4 separate regions of the Homo sapiens genome follow, and all the other regions are linked to region 2. The links are contacts of gene promoters, found by promoter capture Hi-C in blood cells and fetal thymus (Javierre and others, 2016). All regions are on one chromosome and are shown on one strand. The core of a region is centred on a gene start or on the middle of the fragment in contact, and the rest is flanking DNA. Distances in the headings are between cores, read along the strand shown.

Region 1 (4,798 bases), core at 1,558-4,057, 370 kb after region 2:
AGCAGTATGTGCCATTTTTTATCATCTTACACAAATAAGCATGATGCTTTTAAGGCTAACCCCAGAATGACCTAAATGAGAGTTATCTAGTAAATAGGATTAGGAGTAAGAGGAGTCAGTGCAGGAGATTTAGATTTCAAAGTAATTTCTAGACTCTTTTTGAGGTAAGATGCTGGATAAAACTCTGGTAAGTAGATGCAAGTTCAATATATTTGGTTCTGGAGGTTTAATCCTTTTCTGTAAGGCTGTAGACAATATTCTTGGCACTATTCCCTCAAATTATTAATACTTCCTTCTTTTGTGTACTCTTCAGTACCTACTCTTGACAGGATAGACTATTCTTTTTTTTTTTTTTTTTTGAGACGGGAACCTCGCTCTGTTGCCCAGGCTGGAGTGCAGTGGTGCAATCTTGGCTCACTGCAACCTCTGCCTCCCAGGTTCAAGAGATTCTCCTGCCTCAGCTTCCTGAGTAGCTGGGACTACAGGTGCGCGCCGCCATGCGCAGCTAATTTTTTATTTTTAGTAGAGACGGGGTTTCACCATGTCGGTCAGGCTGGTCTCGAACTCCTGACCCCAGGTGTTCCACCCGCCTCGGTCTCCCAAAGTGCTAGGATTACAGGAGTGAGCCACCGCACCCGGCCCCCCTTGGATTTTTTTAATTCAGCATAGAAGTTTTCTTAACTTTTGTTGGAAATAGCTTATTTTTTCCCTTTCTTGTCTAGTGAGCCAGAGCGAGGAAGGCTAACTCCCTCACCAGACATCATTGTTTTGTCTGACAATGAGGCTTCCAGTCCCCGTTCCAGTTCCAGAATGGAAGAAAGACTCAAAGCAGCCAACTTAGAGATGTTTAAGGTAAAAAGAAAGAAAAATTTCTTTCTTCTTGTTATGCTCCTTCTATTTTATTTAATTCCTCAAGAGATTTAGTTCTGTTTTTTGACTATTTACTCTTTGGATATAAATACCCATTGATGAAAACTTTATAGTAACTCTTGACTTCAAGGGCTTTCAAAAGGAACTATTAGAAGCAAGTGGAGACGACAGTTTGAAAAGCATATATGTAGGCCATTATACTCAGTGTTATTTATCTTTGGAAAATGAAAACAAAAGTTCATAATTAAGTCATATAAAGTAAACTCTTGGCTGTAAGGATACTTTCTGCACTCTAACCTAAGTAACTGAATATGAAGGGATTCCTAAGTTTTTATGTATATCTAGAGGAAATGTGGCTTTAAGAGATTTAGGAACATTATTTTAAAAGAAGACAATGTTTCTCTTTAGTCATTCTTCTTTTTGCCAGGAATCTGGCTGATTAGCATTTATACGTGGTCTGTCCTTTAATTCTGTAAGCATTTCTTTGAGTACCTACTGAATGCCAGGCACTGTGCCAGACTCCAGTGATACAAAGATAATCCTATTGCCACTTCTGCTTCTTGTGGAAGATGAAGGTTTCAGAGCTAAGAAGTAAAGATTGTCTCTTGCAGGAAGGAATTCTGGGTACCTTGCTGCCATAGCTGAAAGTCTTCTTGTTTCCTTAGGGGAAAGGCATTGAGGAGCGGCAGCAGCTTATCAAGCAGCTGAGGGATGAGCTACGATTGGAAGAAGCCCGACTGGTCCTGTTAAAGAAACTGAGACAGAGTCAGCTACAGAAAGAGAATGTGGTCCAGAAGGTAATGTGCCCTAGAAATAAGGGACTAAGGGAAAGGAAAGAAAAACTGGTTTGAGAGTAGGTTCCCCCAGGTAGGTTCAGTTGGGTGGCTCATTTCTTCTCTGGGTCCGTAGTTTTTTAGTCTGTAGTAGTAGTGATTTTTTTTTTAATCTTAGGCCTTAAGAAAACCTTGACTCCCAGCCAGGTGCGGTGGCTCACGCCTGTAACTCCAGCACTTTGGGAGGCCGAGGCGGGTGGATCACGAGGTCAGGAGATCGAGAGCATCCTGGCTAACATGGTGAAACCCCATCTCTACTAAAAATACAAAAAATTAGCCGGTCATGGTGGCGGGCGCCTGTAGTCCCAGCTACTCGGGAGGCTGAGGCAGGAGAATGGCGTGAACCCGGGAGGTGGAGCTTGCAGTGAGCCGAGATCAGGCCACTGCACTCCAGCCTGGGCGACAGAGCAAGACTCTGTCTCAAAAAAAAAAAAAAAAAAGAAAACCTTGACTCCCTTTTTCTGGTTTTTCCTCCTGATTGACAAGAACCTCACACTGACCAGGAATTTTTAAAGTCTAGAAATGTACCAAATTTCCACCTGTGATTATTGGCCACAGTCTTATTTTCTCTTCCCTCTCCCAGACTCCAGTTGTACAGAATGCAGCATCTATTGTTCAGCCATCTCCTGCCCATGTGGGACAGCAGGGCCTATCTAAGCTTCCCTCTCGGCCTGGGGCCCAAGGGGTTGAACCTCAAAATTTGAGAACATTACAGGTATGTGACCCATAGTGGGATCTTAGTGTTGGAGGGCCGTGTCTAATCCTGTCTCTGTTTTTGGGCTTTTGTGAAGATTATAGAAGAACCTGGCCATGATAGAGGTGTTATTACTACTGATTGTTCTGTTGGCCCATTATGGCATGATTTAGTCTTCAGTAGAAGGATGAGTAACTTTCATGTTTCCACTGTAGTTTTTCTTGTCTAGAGAATGCTTCCAGCTTCTCTAGAGAAGGGGTAGATAGTTTTCTATCTAACCCTATAGGATTAGATAGTTTATACCAAAAAAAGCCAAGGACTTCCCAGCCACTAATCAGGGTTTACAATGATGGTAGATTTATCCCATAGACCATTAAATGAAATTACCAAGTCTGGCTGTGTTCCTGTGTTTCTACTTAGCTATGTATTATAGGCAGTGTTTTCCCTTTTGCATTTTGTGCTGTATTATACACAGCGTACAACCTGTGATTAGTTCTTTTCCTCTTCTTCCCCTCCAGGGTCACAGTGTCATCCGTTCAGCTACCAATACCACCCTTCCACACATGTTGATGTCTCAACGTGTTATTGCACCAAACCCAGCCCAGCTACAGGGTCAGCGGGGCCCGCCTAAGCCTGGCCTTGTACGCACCACAACACCCAACATGAATCCCGCCATCAATTATCAACCGGTAAGAGAGAGCTGAGCCCTAATGTGGAAACAGAGAAATCCCTTTGTTTGCTTTGCTTGTCGAAAGGGCCATAGGTTTTAAGTTTTTATACATAGATAAACTCTAGGACAAAAATGGTTATTTTGGTAGGGATTTAATTGAGAGCAGTCCCAAAAGTAGAAGCTTTGAGGAATTATATTAAAATAGTAGTGGAGGAGAGAGGTTATACAGCAGAGCAGCAGTAAGCTAAAAATCTGCCTAGAAGAGAGTGATCTAGGGAATAAGAAGCACAAGGATGTGTGACAGAAAGCAAAATCTTATTTCTGTCTCTTTTTTGTTTGTTTGTTTGTTTGTTTTTTGAGCTGGAATCTCACTGTGTTGCCCAGGCTAGAGTGCAGTGGCATGATCTTGGCTCACTGCAACCTCTGCCTCCTGGGTTCAAGGAATTTCCAGCTAATTTTGTGTATTTTTCGTAGAGACAGAGTTTGACCATGTTGGCCAGGCTGGTCTCAAACTCCTCACCTCAAGTGATCTGCCTACCTCGGCCTCCCAAAGTGCTGAGATTATAGGCGTGAGCCACCACGCGTGGCCTTTATTTCTCTCTTAGCAATGTTAGCTCATGGTCATCATCATTCTCCTTTCCTATGTGTCAGAGTTCTTTTTCAATAAATAAGTTGACCACCTCCTATTTTTGGAGAAGCTAAGTAGTCCAAACCAGGATCAGACAGTGTCCTCTGCCAAGAACGTAAGAATTGGCCCTTTCTCCTGCATACCATGATTGACCGCATTCTCAATCTATTTCAGCAGTCAAGTTCTTCTGTTCCATGTCAGCGTACAACATCCTCTGCCATCTATATGAACCTTGCTTCTCATATCCAGCCAGGGACGGTGAACAGAGTGTCCTCGCCACTTCCTAGCCCCAGCGCCATGACTGATGCTGCCAACTCACAGGCTGCAGCCAAATTGGCTCTTCGCAAACAGCTGGAAAAGACACTCCTGGAGATCCCACCCCCTAAACCTCCTGCTCCCTTACTTCATTTCTTGCCTAGTGCAGCCAATAGCGAGTTCATCTACATGGTAGGCTTGGAAGAAGTCGTACAGAGTGTCATTGACAGCCAAGGTAAGGCTGTTTCTTCTAATCAATCTATTTAAGCAAGTGGTTGCCAAGCCTGATTGACATAGGCAGAGTATCAGAGGGTACTGTACAATATTAAATAACTTCTCCTTCCTGTTACCAAACCACCTCCCTCCCTTCTTTACAGCTGTTTGGGAGCAACATGTTAGAAGCGGAGTGTGTGTGTGTGTGTGTGTGTGTGTGTGTGTGTGTGTGTGTTTTGTTTGAGATGCAGTCTCGCTCTGTTGCCCAGGCTGGAGTGCAGTGGCACAATCTCAGTTCACTGCAACCTCTGCCTCCTGAGTTCAAGCAATTCTCCTGCCTCAGCCTCCCACGTAGCTGGGACTACAGGCACGTGGCACCACACCCGGTTAATTTTTGTATTTTTAGTAGAGACGGGGTTTCATCATGTTGGCCAGGCTGGTCTCGAACTCCTGACATCAGGTGATCTGCCCACCTCGGCTTCCTAAAGTGCTAGGATTACAGGCATGAGCCACTGTACCCCGTCAGCCGGCCGGGGCCAGCCTGCCTATGTATCTATCTATCTATCTAATCTATCATCTATCTAATCTATCTATTCTATTCTATCTAATCTATCATCTATCTTTCGGCTTGTTTT
Region 2 (4,244 bases), core at 1,210-3,709:
AGAGGAGAGGACTCCTGTGGACTGCAGGCTGCTTCCTGGCAGAAGTTTCCTCTCTTACCCTCAGTCTAAAGCCTTAGTTTCAATTCTGCCAGGCAAGGTGGGGAACTATAAGTCTTCTCTTCTGGAGCCCACGATGGAGCCTGCCAGGGAGACAAGTTATTCTTCTGTTCTGGACATCCAAGGGTGACTTTAAGGAGGATGCCTGGAGGACATGGGGAGAAGGTGAGAAGGGTTAAGCTGGCAGAAAGGGGAAGCCAAGCATCTGCAGCACTTAAGAGCAGGACGGTGCCAGGATGGTGCCTCCTGAACGGACCTCAGTAGTCTTGTGGGGGTGATCTGGGAAGGTTAGGAGTTCTGTTGGAAAGGTAAAGCAGGGTGTACAAGTCCTCTGCCCCCACCCCGGAAAGCCTCAGGGCAGCTGGAATGGCATTGAAGAGAGCAGGTGGCAATTTTGATGAGGAGCTGCTGACACGGCTGATCCTCTGGGCGCTGGGGCCGTGACATCAGGGTGAGAAGCTCTGTGTGGGAGCTCTAGGGAACGATAGTTGCCCGGATGTGGAGCCCTGCCAGGTATTCTTCCTGGTTTAGGCCAACGTGATCCAGCAAAGGCCAGGAGCTTGTAGAGGAGGAGCTGAGGCAGGGATGACACGTAGGACAATAAGCAAGAGCTGGCTGTCTTGGGAGGTGAAGAGCAGGAGCCAGTACCCTTCCTCAAGGAGATGGCTCTCCACCTAGACATGATTGGTGCCTGGTGTCTGCTCTATTCTTTCTTTGCAACTGGAAGGAAGGCAGATGACCCCCAAAGCTCTCCTGCCTGCTTCTGTGTGATATGTTTGATATTGGGTTGTTTAATTAGGAACCAACTAAATGTCAAACATATTCTTACAGCAGCAGGTGATTCAGCACCACCCTCTTTCATACTTCAATCTCTGGGGCTCCTGTCTCTTTTACTGAACCTCTTCTCTCCAGGACCCCCCCAAAAGTCCAGTAGCTGCAACCTATGTGCATTTCAATCTTAACCTAAGAGGGCTGGTGTGGGAATGGGAGAGAGTTGGAATTTGAGGATAGAATCTTTCTATTTCTTGTCCCCTTATACTAGAAGGGACATTTCTTTGCCTTTTCTTGTCCTCGTATTTTTCTCCCCCTTATTCACTTGCCCACCCCCCCCCCATTTTCCACTCCTTCCTCTCCCTGTTCCCTAACCCCTTTCCCTGGCTAATCTCCAGAGAAAGGAGACTTGGTTTCTCCTCTCTCTGTCGAGAGTCAGCTGATGGTCTATCTGCCTATCTACCTCTAGTGACTGGAAGCTCTCAATAGTGGACTCCAGCTCTGCTCTACCCACTGGCCTGGTGGGTGTCTCCGTTCCCCCATTGCTGGGGCTTAGCATTAACTCTCAGTATCCTGACATAAATGACTAACTAGAGCCATTTATATTTGTCCAATATATCTGGTCACCTTGAACAGTGCCCACCTCTCCCTTGGCATATTTTCAGGTGTATGGTGCCAGTGGACTGGTATCCTTGCCACCTGTTAGTAACAAGGCTCCCAATGGAAGAATAAACATGGTCTGGAACTAAACTGGAAAGAATAGAGCTGATAATGATGATTACGATGATGTGGTGAGTGGCAGCGTTGGGGAGAATTAAGAAGGGAGAAGATAAAGGGAAGAAGAGGAGAGAGCCACACAGACCAAAGTCTGTGTGGGTACAACAGTTCTATTTTAAGATTACTGTGGGAAAACAAAGGGTATGATCCTGTCTGGATTGTTCTGACCCTCCCCTGTTTCTCTCCCCACCCCACTTGAAGCTCTGGGATAGCCTTCAAGGATAGGGTTGGAGATTCCAACCCTACCTCTTACTCTACTCTTGTGGCTCTTGGTGGGGAGGAAAAACGTCTCCCTGCCAATCGGAGACTCCCAGAATAGCACAGCAATTTGATCTGGGGATCTGGGAGAATTGTTAAGGATCATGAGTGACCTCCCCTCTTCCCTGTGCCCAAGCTCCTTGAATACCAGGAATCAAAAGCTAAAACTCAACTAACGGAGTTTGACCAGCATTCAACACAGTCTGGGGGAGAGTGAAACGGGAAGCTGAAAGGCAACCAGGACCCCCTGGATGCAAACTGCCAACCTAGAATTGCCAAAGTACACTTCTCTATTTCAATGTTCTTCCCTCCCCTCTTCCTCTTCTTTTAAAACATCCATAGAGCTGCCCAGAATGAGTGGAAAGTTTCAGGGTCAGGGAGAACCTCTTCCCTCCCCCACTTTCCATTGTCTAAAATCAGCCTCAGCTGTTGCTAGATATTTTTTTTGCTGGTGATGTCAGTTCATCAAAGCGTCTCACCCTGTGTTCCCCCAGGAGAACAATGATGGGGTGGAGGGAGCTGGAAAGACCATATTAGGAACAAAAGGTGGAGCTATGAGCACAGATAAAGACTCAAGTCTGGGGACCTCCTGGTCACTCAGGCAGCAGCCCCTTCTTTCTTGCCCCAGTCTCCAGTTCTCCAGTGTTCACAGGTGAGCCTACCAACAGCCACTGCTCATGATGGAGGCCATCAAGAAAAAGATGCAGATGCTGAAGTTAGACAAGGAGAATGCTCTGGATCGGGCAGAGCAAGCTGAAGCTGAGCAGAAGCAGGCAGAAGAAAGAAGTAAACAGGTAGGCACTGGCATTGATCTCTCTCATCTGCTAGTGAACAAGACTGTGAAATGGAAGGGAGTTTTCATGGGAAAGACAGTGACTACTGGTGTCACCTCCTTTTTGGGGGTGGGATGGACTCCCCAGCCTCACTGGAGGAGCAGAGGATATCTAACATATCTGTCTCAGACTGCCTTTGTGACCTTGGGAAAGTCAGTGAGCCACAGTATGTCTGCTGAATTTAAGTAGAAATGGACCATGTTTTGGAAGAACCCTTGACTTCTAGAGGAAAAGGTAAGAGTTCTAGAGGGAAAGAGCATCTCTTTTCACTCAAATAGCATCACGGGCATCTACACTTTAGATATTTATCATCCAGGGGTCTTGGATGAAAACCCAGGATGGCTTGGTCATCTTAGGATCAGAGATTACAGGGTCACAGGCCAAGCTACGGCATAACTCCTGAGGCAGTGGGCTGGAAGTGGCTGGGGAGAAAGTGTGTCTCACTAGGGATGGTAACATGGAGGTTACACTCAGGGCTCCAAGAGCCCAGGGTCCAACCCTGCATTGTTGTGTTTGTGTGTTTTTGTGTGTGACTCTCTGGGCTCCTATAGCTGGAGGATGAGCTGGCAGCCATGCAGAAGAAGCTGAAAGGGACAGAGGATGAGCTGGACAAGTATTCTGAAGCTTTGAAGGATGCCCAGGAGAAGCTGGAACTGGCAGAGAAGAAGGCTGCTGATGTGAGTATTAGAGAGATGGAGGATGGGTTTAATCTACACATATAGATCTTTATGTTAATGTATGACGAAATTCCAAACACACTTGTGGGTTCATGGAACACAGACATATATACTCACATACATTTTTGCATATAACCACATGCTGGTATATTCTCATAATGGCATGTATTTTCTTTCTTAAAGACATCTCCAACATGTTAAAAGTTTTTTTTTAATACATGTAAAGGTCTCATTTATCTCCTATCACCAACCCAGGAATTTAATTATCTTTCCCAGGACCTGGACAAAGAGAGGGGACTCTAAGTTCAGAATGCTGTCACTTATCCTACCTCCTCCCCCATGCCACATTCTTAGCTTTTATGTCCAAGTCTTGGCATGTGGATATGTGTATTAATAGGGAACCTCTCATCTCTCAACTGTCCAACAAAACCAGCTCGGATTTCACAATGGGAAATGGAGGTCACACTGACCCTGGCCATATATGGGTTTATTTATCTTGGCCAATGCAGGCATTTGCCTTTATGCCATGGAGATGCCATATGAAGCATTGCTCCTAGGGCAGCAGAGAGATCCCTACAGTGACAGAGTATAATAGAAACTAAGAAAGAATCTTAGGGGGTAAAGGTATCACCACCAGACTTCACTCTATGACCGTGAGTAATTACTCAGCTTGTCTAGGGCTGAATTTTCCCATTCTCAAATAAAATAAATTCTCTTTTCCATCTCATATTATCCCATCATCATCACCTACTTTCCTTCATCTTTAACCTTGAAGTTTGCTGCAAAGATAAATGAGAGAGTAGATTGAAAAGTTTTTTAGAAGAAAAGTACCATAGGAATCTTACCAACAACAACAGAAATGTCCCAGTAT
Region 3 (4,639 bases), core at 1,000-3,499, 340 kb before region 2:
CAAGCAAATCTCCTGCCTCACCCTCCTGAGTAGCTAGGATTACAGGCATGTGCCACCACGCCCAGCTAATTTTTGTATTTTTAGTAGAGACGGGGTTTCACCATGTTGGCCAGGCTGGTCTCGAACACCTGACCTCATGATCCACCCACCTCGGCCTCCCAAAGTGCTGGGATTACAGGCGTGAGCCACTGCGCCCGGCCTGCAACCTTTTCTTAGGAATTAACTGCTGCTTTTTCCCCAGTCCATTTACTTGGATTTCCTTGAATCTTTGGCTAAGTTTTCCTATAACCTCCAGTGGCTCTTCATAATACCGCTCCTCTCAATTTTACATTTTTCTTCCTGCCAACGTCACCGCTGGAGTCTCACCCCGTCCTGCTCTGCCCTGGACTGCCTGCTGCACAGCAACTGTTCCAGGACTGCCTTTGGCCAATCTGGGAAGCCTCTCATCTCTCTCCTCTTGGATCTGGGTTGGATACCAGATCCCGTCTTGTTTTGGCTTACTGATTCATTTTTGTTGGAACACACTCCTTCATAGCTTTCTGAGAACAGGTACATGGGGCACACATTTTTTGAGACCCTATCTTTCTGAGCAAGTCTTTTTCAACCTTTTTTTAAAAGTGACAGTGTCTTACTTTGTTACCCAGGCTGGAGTGCTGGCACAATCATAGCTCACTGCAACCTCAAACTCCTTCAGGTCAAGTGATCCTCCCATCTCAGCCTCACCAGTAGCTGGGACTACATGTGTGTGCCACCACACCCGGCACATTTTTTGTCGACAGGGTTGCCCAGGATGTTCTCAAACTCCTGGCCTGAAGCAATCCTCCCACCTCAGCTTCCCAAATCCCAAATTCCAAAGCACTGGGATTACAGGTACACACCACTGCAGATGGCTTACCCTTATATTCTCTCTCTCTTTTTTTTTTTTTCTTGAGATGGAGTCTCACTCTGATGCCCAGGCTGGAGTGCAGTGGCATGATCTCAGCTCACTGCAACCTCTGCCTCCCAGGTTCCAGGGATTCTCCTGCCTCAGCCTCCCGAGTAGCTGGAATTACAGGTGTGCACCACCACGCTTGGCTAATTTTTGTATTTTTAATAGAGATGGAGTTTCACCATGTTAGCCAGGCTGGTCTCAAACTCCTGACTTCAAGTGATCCGCCCACCTCGGCCTCCCAAAGTGCTACCCTTATTCTTGACTGACTTGTTTGGGCTTGGATATTATTTTCCTGAAGAATTCAATCACACCACCTGATTCCATATCCTTCAATGTGGATTCTCTTCCTAAAGCTTTATCCCTAGTATTCTAAAATACTTCTGTAAAGTGCCTTCATGTAGGTTTTTATTTTCCCATTCATTATCCTGGGCACTCATTGGCTGCTTTGTATCTGAAAACTCACATCCTTCACCCATGGGAAATTATCTTATATCATTTGATAATCTCTCCCCCACGCTGACCTGAACACTGCCTGGATGCGTGTTGTGCCACGTAAGCTTATCTTCTAATTTTACCTTTTCTTTTCTTTAAAACAATTTCACTACAAAATATTTCAATCAACAAATCCTCTCCCCAAAAAGCAATAACAAATCTTGACAAATTGTCAAAAACAATCACTTCAGGACTCTGGAAATTGACTGAAGCATACAAGAAATTGAAAACATCTATTAAAAAGAAAACAATAACAACAACGACTGACCTTTGTACGAAAACAGTGAGCATCTGGGGCTTCCCCACTCCCCACTCCTTCAGCGGATAGTTCTACCAGGATGGGCAAAGCCATGGAAACCAGGAGCATCAAAGGTGGCTGACTTGATCGGAGCAGGCTATGGAAAACCACCAGGTGTTGTCAGAAACTGCCACCTCGTGGTAAGCAACGGGAAAGTTGCAGCCTGGCTTTTATGCATCTTCACCTACAAAAGGTGCCTATTCCTAGCTCTTGCCCATTTTTCTATTAGGTTGTTTCTTTCTTGCATTGATTTCCAGGCATTTTCATCCTGTTTATTTTTGTTTTTTAAAAAATAGCCTAGATCTTAACCCAGGAACTGGCAAACTTTTTCTGCAAAGGGCCAGATAGTAAATATTTTAGATTTTGGGGGCCTTACTGTCTGTCATGAGTCCACTCTGCTGCTGTAGTGAGGAAGCAGCCACAGGCAATCTGTAAACAAATGGCTGAGGCTGCATGCCAGGAATGTTTCATGGACACAAACTGAATTTCATACAATTTTCATGTGTCATGAAATATTCTTCATTTTTTTTCCCATTTAAAAATACGGCTGGGGGGTCTCACGCCTATAATCCCAGCAGTTTGGGAAGTGGAGACACGAGGATTGCTTGCCAGGAGTTCAAGACCAGCTTGGGCAACATAGTGGGACCCCATCTCTACAAACAATAGAAAATTAAAAAAAAATATATATATATATATATATGGCTGGGCACAGTGGCTGCCCTGCAATCCCAGCACTTTGGGAGGCTAAAGCAGGAGGATTGCTTGAGGCCAAATCAGCTGGGCATGGTGGTACACGCCTGTAGTCCCAGCTACTCACGAGGCTGAGGCAGGACTGCTTGAGCCCAGGAGTTCGAGGCTGCAGTAAGTTCAGATCACACCACTGCACTCCAGTCTGGGCAACAGAGCAAGACCCTGCTCTAAAAATATAAATAAATAAAAACCATTCTTAGAACCTCCACTCTGAGAAGATGAAATATACATACTTCATCTTAGTTTTGTTAAACACAACTAAGAGCCCAGGACATTACATGTAAAACAAACATAAGAAGACTCTGAAAGATGGAGAGAAGGGAACAGGCTGACCAGAGACCTTGGAACCCAGGGTACAACGTGGTGATGACTTCTCTGGGTTTTCCTTTTGCTTTATATATTCCAAACTTAGAATTGAAGAGGCCAGCAACCCAGAAACACCAGTAGGTCCAGAAAAAAAAAAAAAAAAAACCCAACAAAAGCCTGCTCTTTCTAGCCAAAGCACCAGAAGAGACAGGCTAGGAAGACAGAAAGCTTGTAGATAATAACTCCTTTACTCCAGCTAAATGCCACCAACAAGGAGATCCCACCTCCACGCATGCCAACAAAGACAGCATGCAGGGCCCAGACTTCTGCCCTCATGGGGCTGGGATGAGTCGCCCAATACCCCCACCCTGATGGTGTCACAAAGGGCCAAGCAGGCAGCCAGGAATTTCATCCCCTACCCAATAAAGAAACCGGTCTCTCCCTACCACCACCCTGCCTGGGTGTCAATAGAAACCACTTGGGAATCCTGGACTTCCATACCCACCTCACAGAGAGAAAGCCCCCCTCTCTCTCCCTACTGGGGGGGGTGTCAGAAGTGTAGTGGAGAGTCAAGACTTTCCTCAGCGGTAATGAAGCCATCCACGCCAAGATGTCAGTGGAGACCACAAACTAGAACTGGCAGTAACAAGGGGCTCGCTGCCGCCTTAGAGGCTGAGTAGGGAGCCTGACTTCCATCCTCACCTGGCAGCAGCGAGGCAGTACCGTGTTCCCCTGTGGGAGCAGCATCAGAGGAAGCCAGTTAAAACACAAGGTGTATACAAAATCTAGTCTAGCAACGTAACAAGAAAATGTCCAAGTTTCCAGTGAAACTCACTCATCATACCAAGAACCAGGAAAATTTCACATGGAATGAAAAAAATGAGAGGCGACAGCGTGCTGGCAGCCCTCGCAGCCCTCGCTCGCTCTCGGTGCCTCCTCAGCCTCGGCGCCCATTCTGGCCGCGCTTGAGGAGCCCTTCAGCCCGCCGCTGCACCGTGGGAGCCCTTCTCTGGGCTGGCCGAGGCCAGAGCTGGCTCCCTCGGCTTGCAGGCAGGTGTGGAGGGAGAAGCACAGGTGGGAACCAGGGCTGCGCGCGGTGCTTGCAGGACAGCTAGAGTTCTGGGTGGGCGTGGGCTTTGCGGGCCGCACTCAGAGCGGCCCCGGGCAGTGAGGGGCTTAGCACCCAGGCCAGCAGCTGCGGAGGGTGCACCAGGTCCCGCAGCAGTGCTGGCCCACTGGTGCTGCGCTTGATTTCTCACCAGGCCTTAGCTGCCTCCCCGCAGGGCAGGGCTTGGGACCTGCAGCCCGCCATGCCTGAGTCTCCCCACCACCCCGCCATGGGCTCCTGCGCTGCCTGAGCCTCCCCGATGAGCAACGCCCCCTGCTCCACAGCACCTGGTCCTATCAACCACCCAAGGGCTGAGGAGTGTGGGCGCACAGCACCCGCCTGGCAGGCAGCTCCACCTGTGGCCCCGGTGCGAGATCCACTGGGTGAAGCCAGCTGGGTTCCTGAGTCTAGTGGGTACTTGGAGAACCTTTATGACTAGCTAAGGGATTGTAAATACACCAATCAGCGCTCTGTGTCTAGCTCAGGGTTTGTGAATACACCAATCGACACTCTGTATCTAGCTAATCTAGTGGTGAGGTGGAGAACTTGTGTGTCTAGCTCAGGGATTGTAAACGCACCAATCAGCACCCTGTCAAAACAGACCAATCAGCTCTCTGTAAAATGGACCAATCAGCAGGATGTGGGTGGGGCCAGATAAGGGAATAAAAGCAGGCTGCCCGAGCCAGCAGTGGCAACCCACTCGGGTCCCCTTACGCACTGTGGAAGCTTTGTTCTTTCGCTCTTTGCAATAAAT
Region 4 (4,739 bases), core at 1,631-4,130, 290 kb before region 2:
TGAAACGTTTTTACTTAACCTTATTCTACAAAGGGAATACAGCAGTTATTCTAATTTTAATAAATGCTAAAAGCTTTATACAATTTTTCTTTGTGCACTAAATGATTTTTGGCCCATACCCAGCAACTGTGATGAATGTATAATGAAATAACATCTTGAAAACAGGCCAGATACATTAAGTATTTATTGAGCTTCTGTCATATGCCCAGTATTATGCTTCTTCTATACTGTTTCTCTGTGACAAGTCATACTATATTCTTTATAGAATTAAAAGTAGAGGAGAGGCAGAGTTTACATATTGTCCAGTTGCTTTACAGTTGTACAGGAGGTTATAAGAAGAAATATAGTAAATTAGTGGGAAGTCAGAGGTGGGGGCGTTAGTGAGCTATTTTCTTCTTGAGGTTGTGACACAAGCTGACAAAAGCCAGGGAGTTCACAGCTGTGTGGTGGCACAAAGTTCCATATGTTCTAAAAACAATTAGGCCCAGCAGGGTGTCCCTAATGGCTTCCTTGTTAAACCTCCATGGCCAGCTGATCTGAAGCTCTGTGACATGTTCTCTGAGCTCTGAATGCTCTGGCTTTTTGTCATTTTGTCTTGAGACAAGTATTTTCCTGTAGTCCTCATTCCTTCGAGTTATTCCATCTCCCAGGATATTCTCTGGTGAGAAGAATGTCTTTCAGTGAATTTGCCTTGAATTTAGCATCCATAGAGCTGTGTCAGTGTTCTTCTTGATCACACCTTCTTTAAAAAAAATACTTGCTTGCGATGACTGGACAAGTTCAGTTGGTTAGTTTCAGGCCTATAAGAAGAGAGAGTAAAGGACCTTGCTATTTACTTTGATACCATAGTTGTATCTCAGGATGGCCTGCAAACCACTGGCCTTGTGTGTATTTAAGCTAGGAATAAAATAATGGAGAAGTGTTAATATGTATACAAAAAGGTAAATATTGATATATCTACTCTCTGTTGGGGGCAGAAGTGTCATTTTAAGTTATTCAAAGCACTTTCTTAAGCATTTTAGAAAGCCTTTATTCTTTGCTGTTGGAAGTCTCCGTACTTTGCAGAATTGGTATTTGTGTACTAGCCTCTGCCGCAGGATGGGGAGGTGGGCAGGTAGCTGATAGGGGCAGCCAGGAGTTTTTGAGGCAGGTGGTGGGAAATTGTCCTAATTTGTTAATTGGATTATGTAACTCTGTTACTAGTCTGTTATTGGCTGTTGTTACTGGATGCATCTTGATATTCAGAAGAATAACTGTGAGGCATTCTTCAGTTGCGGGTTAAGTGGGGTTAGTTTCTGTTCTGTCAGATGCCCTTTTTCAGTCAAAGGTTAGCCCCTTGTTTCTCCCTCCTTCCAGGGTTTAGGGAGTGCAGTGATGTCGATTTCATTTCCCTTCCCCGCACCCCTTGACACTCAGCAGGATTGCACTGAAACCCTTCACAGATCTCTCGTTCACTAGTTGTCTCCTATTTTTCCATAACTAGCACTAGTTTGGCCTTATGACCTGGTTAGAATCACTCTTCTGTATTCTCATTTCCAATTTTTGTGCCCCACTAACGTGGACTAGAGAAACTTGGCCTGCTGTGCAGTGGGCCTTCTGTTCAACTTACCCTCCACCGCTGACCCTGTGTGAAGAGAGATGGTGCGTTACTGCCATCTAATGGGAAAAGAGAAAACTGCAGTTGGGAAAAGCAGCTGTGCATTTAAGGGTAGGGCTTTCTGAAGGATTTCTGATACAGTCCAGAAAAGGGAAAATGATGACACAGCAGTTGCCATCTTGAAAAATGCCCTTTCCTGCGGAAAGGGTGTTTTGAAGTCTAATACAACTATCATCACAAGGTCCCTGGACTAAGGCTGGATCGTGTAATTTAGAATCTCAAATTGTATTTTAATTAATATGCTGGCAACAGAATCATTGAAACAGGCGTCTCATTTTGTCAAGTTCTTAGCCGTTCAGTTTGTCAGGGGCTTTAATATTTTAGATATCAACTAATACATAGTTTCAACTTTTAAAAATGTTTGAAGATTGTATGTAATATAGGTGTCTATCTATAGTGCCTTAGTAATTTAAATCAGAAATATTTTATAAAACTTCTGGTTGTTTTGCAGTAGCCAATATAGGCTTCATGCCCTCCTGAAGATAGTTTCCTCTGAAATGTAACTTTAAATAAACATTATTCCAAGAAAACTACAGTGGTTTTGCTTAATTCAGTTAGCTCTGAGAATCATCTTCCTTCAGAAAAATACTTCCCATGGTAAGAGCTACAGCAGAGTTTCATTTGCAGTCACCATTAATGAAATATAGAAACACCATGATGGAACATAACCAGCAGATTCTATCTTTTATTTACTCTGTTCACATTTAGAGTCCTTCTATTATGTTTTTCTTCCCAAGTAAAATAGTAATACAGTGATGTTTTACTGCCATTTCCTGGCCCATCTCTTCCTGAGTCGAAAGTTAGTGCACTGGTTCTCATCCCTCACTAGATAGAAGATTTGGGCTCTGCTTCTGTTTTTATCAGTTTGTTATTAATACAAATGTCCCATGCCATCTGTGGGATGCCCTAAGTCTGTTGCAAAGTTCAAAAACCTATTTTAAAAAAAAATTGTACCAGGTGATTTGGATACACAGCCAATGGTGGAGAAGCCCTGTTGGAAGCTCCTATTTGGAAATGCACAAATAAATTCACGTCAGGTCCTAGAAGGGCATACTGTTGAGTCTGCTATCAAAAAGTTTTCCCCTCCAAAATTCCTAACATGGTTTCAAGTTTTTAACTTCCATTAAACATTTATGTAAGTTGCCACCAGGTGGAACAAGTGCCTATTGTTTTAACCCATCTGTGTTTAAGAGAAGAGGAAGTTTGCATTAAGAAATGCTCCCGCCACCCACCACCCGAGCAATTAGAGTAATGGTTTTCAGAATTCAGATTGAACACGTGTTTACAAGCACCCAGGGTTTGAGTGTTGAATGTTGGATTCTGACCCTGTGAAAGGCCAAGATGTAAGTAGTGAGAATAGACTCTTTTTCCGCACCAGGTGTGCTGCTGAACAAATGCTTTTCATCATACAGCATCTCATTTAATCTGCCACAACTCAGCCAGGTGGGAACCTTGTTTTTCAGATAAAAACACGGGTGCTTAGAATGATGAAATAACTTGTCTTGGGTCAGTCATAGTAAGTGGTAGAGCCCAGATTGCGGCCCAGGTCTCACTCTAGAGTGTTTTTTTTTTTTTTTTTTTTGCACTTTTTATGATTTCATTTAAAAACAAAACATAGACTGAGTTGTCTGTTCATTTTCTTCGCTGCACAGCCTGGCCTTGGGAGTGGTGACTGATGGCCCACGGGGCTGCTCGCTCCACAGTGGCCTTGTGGTTCTGGAGGAAACATTGTGAGCAATCTCAGCTCAGTATAATTTGTTGCACATCAGCAGCGCTTCATTCCGGCTCCTTGACCTTGTAGACCAGGAACTTCTGGAAGCCACTGGGCAGGGTGTGCTTCATTATCTTGCTACTCCCATAACTGACGCTGGCAATACAGCAGAGTATCATTCAGCCTCAACAAGGAAGGGAATCCTGACACAGACCATTACGCTGAGTGAAACCCGTCAGTCACAAAAAGACAAATACTGTATGATTCCACTTACATGAGGTACCCAGAGTAGTCAAATTCATAGAAAGTAGAATGGTAGTTGCCAGGGGCTGGGGAAGGAGGAAATGGGGAGTTGTTTAATGAGTGCAGAGTTTTCTTTTCTTTTCTTTCTTTTTTTTTTTTTTTTTTTGAGACAGTGTCTTGCTCTGTCGCCCAGGCTGGAGTGCAGTGGTGCAATCTCAACTCACTGCAACCTCCACCTCCCAGGTTCCAGCAATTCTCCTGCCTCAGCCTCCCAAGTAGCTGGGACTACAGGCATGCGCCACAACACCCAGCTAATTTTTGTATTGTTAGTAGAAACGGGGTTTCACCATGTTGGCCAGGCTGGTCTCAAACTCCTGACCTCATGTGATCCACCAGCCTTGGCCTCCCAAAGTGCTGAGATTATAGGCATGACCCACCATTCCCAGCCCAGAGTTTCTGCATGAGATAATGAAAAGTCCTGGAGATTGGGTGCACAACAATATGAATGTAGTTAACACTGCTGAACTGCACACTTAGAAATGGTTAACATAGGCCAAGTGTAGTGGCTTATGCCTGTAATCCCAGGGCTTTGGGAGGCCAAAGTAGGCGGATCACTTGAGCGAAGGAGTTCGAGACCAGCCCGGGCAACGTGGTGAAACCCCATCTCTTATAAAAAAAATTAAAATAGGTGGTTAAGATGGTAAATTTTATGTTAATGCATTTCTTACCACACACACAAAAATGCCAGTCTATTATCTTACAATGGAAATGCATCTAGCAGACTGGACATTCAGGTCACCTGTGTGATCAATGTGCTCTCTACCCATAGAGGGGCACATGGACTCAGAGCAAGGGAAAAAGGAATTGGGTTTTCGGTATCCATCTCCACCTCCAGGACAATCCTCTGCTGGGTCTGGCAAGTTGTGTCCATGGGCCTAGGCAGCCTTTCCCCTGCTTGGGAGAGGCTCTGCCTGTAGAACTGGGTAGTGTGAAGTCCTGAAGGTCATTTAAGCTCTGATAAACATACCTTGAGGAGATTCAGTGTGAGGCATGAGGTTATCATTTCCAGAATCCACAGGTAGCACCAGAATTACTTCCCCTTTGTGAATCATGTAGTATGAATCACTG

Evidence for each region. The method cuts DNA at HindIII sites, captures the fragments that hold promoters and counts their contacts. A CHiCAGO score of 5 or more calls a contact.
Region 1: a fragment that was not itself captured here is called in contact with the fragment with the promoter of TPM3 in region 2 in 2 of 17 cell types (naive CD8 T cells and naive CD4 T cells); the score reaches 6.2 in naive CD8 T cells.
Region 3: a contact is called between a fragment that was not itself captured here and the fragment with the promoter of TPM3 in region 2, in 5 of 17 cell types (M2 macrophages, endothelial precursors, M1 macrophages and 2 more). The highest score is 8.8, in M2 macrophages.
Region 4: a contact is called between a fragment that was not itself captured here and the fragment with the promoter of TPM3 in region 2, in 1 of 17 cell types (M2 macrophages). The highest score is 8.9, in M2 macrophages.

Annotation. Positions count from the first base shown.
Region 1 is chr1:153,815,660-153,820,457 of GRCh38, reverse strand. It overlaps GATAD2B (GATA zinc finger domain containing 2B), which reads left to right. Exons shown (of 11, transcript NM_020699.4): 3 at 723-852; 4 at 1,536-1,667; 5 at 2,287-2,418; 6 at 2,916-3,086; 7 at 3,870-4,185. Among named protein-coding and RNA genes, the nearest start is that of SLC27A3, 43 kb to the right of the region's middle. The HindIII fragment of the contact is 887 bases long and covers 2,364-3,250 here.
Region 2 is chr1:154,190,315-154,194,558 of GRCh38, reverse strand. TPM3 (tropomyosin 3) reads left to right here and starts at 2,459. Exons shown (of 10, transcript NM_152263.4): 1 at 2,459-2,657; 2 at 3,248-3,373. The coding sequence starts at 2,541. It overlaps MIR190B (microRNA 190b), which reads left to right and starts at 816; the gene lies at 816-894. The HindIII fragment of the contact is 3,875 bases long and covers 1-3,322 here.
Region 3 is chr1:154,531,657-154,536,295 of GRCh38, reverse strand. All of the region lies in intron 6 of TDRD10 (tudor domain containing 10), which reads right to left. Among named protein-coding and RNA genes, the nearest start is that of UBE2Q1-AS1, 20 kb to the left of the region's middle. The HindIII fragment of the contact is 1,517 bases long and covers 1,491-3,007 here.
Region 4 is chr1:154,476,929-154,481,667 of GRCh38, reverse strand. SHE (Src homology 2 domain containing E) reads left to right here. Exons shown (of 6, transcript NM_001010846.3): 6 at 1-2,187. Among named protein-coding and RNA genes, the nearest start is that of TDRD10, 23 kb to the left of the region's middle. The HindIII fragment of the contact is 5,610 bases long and covers 76-4,739 here.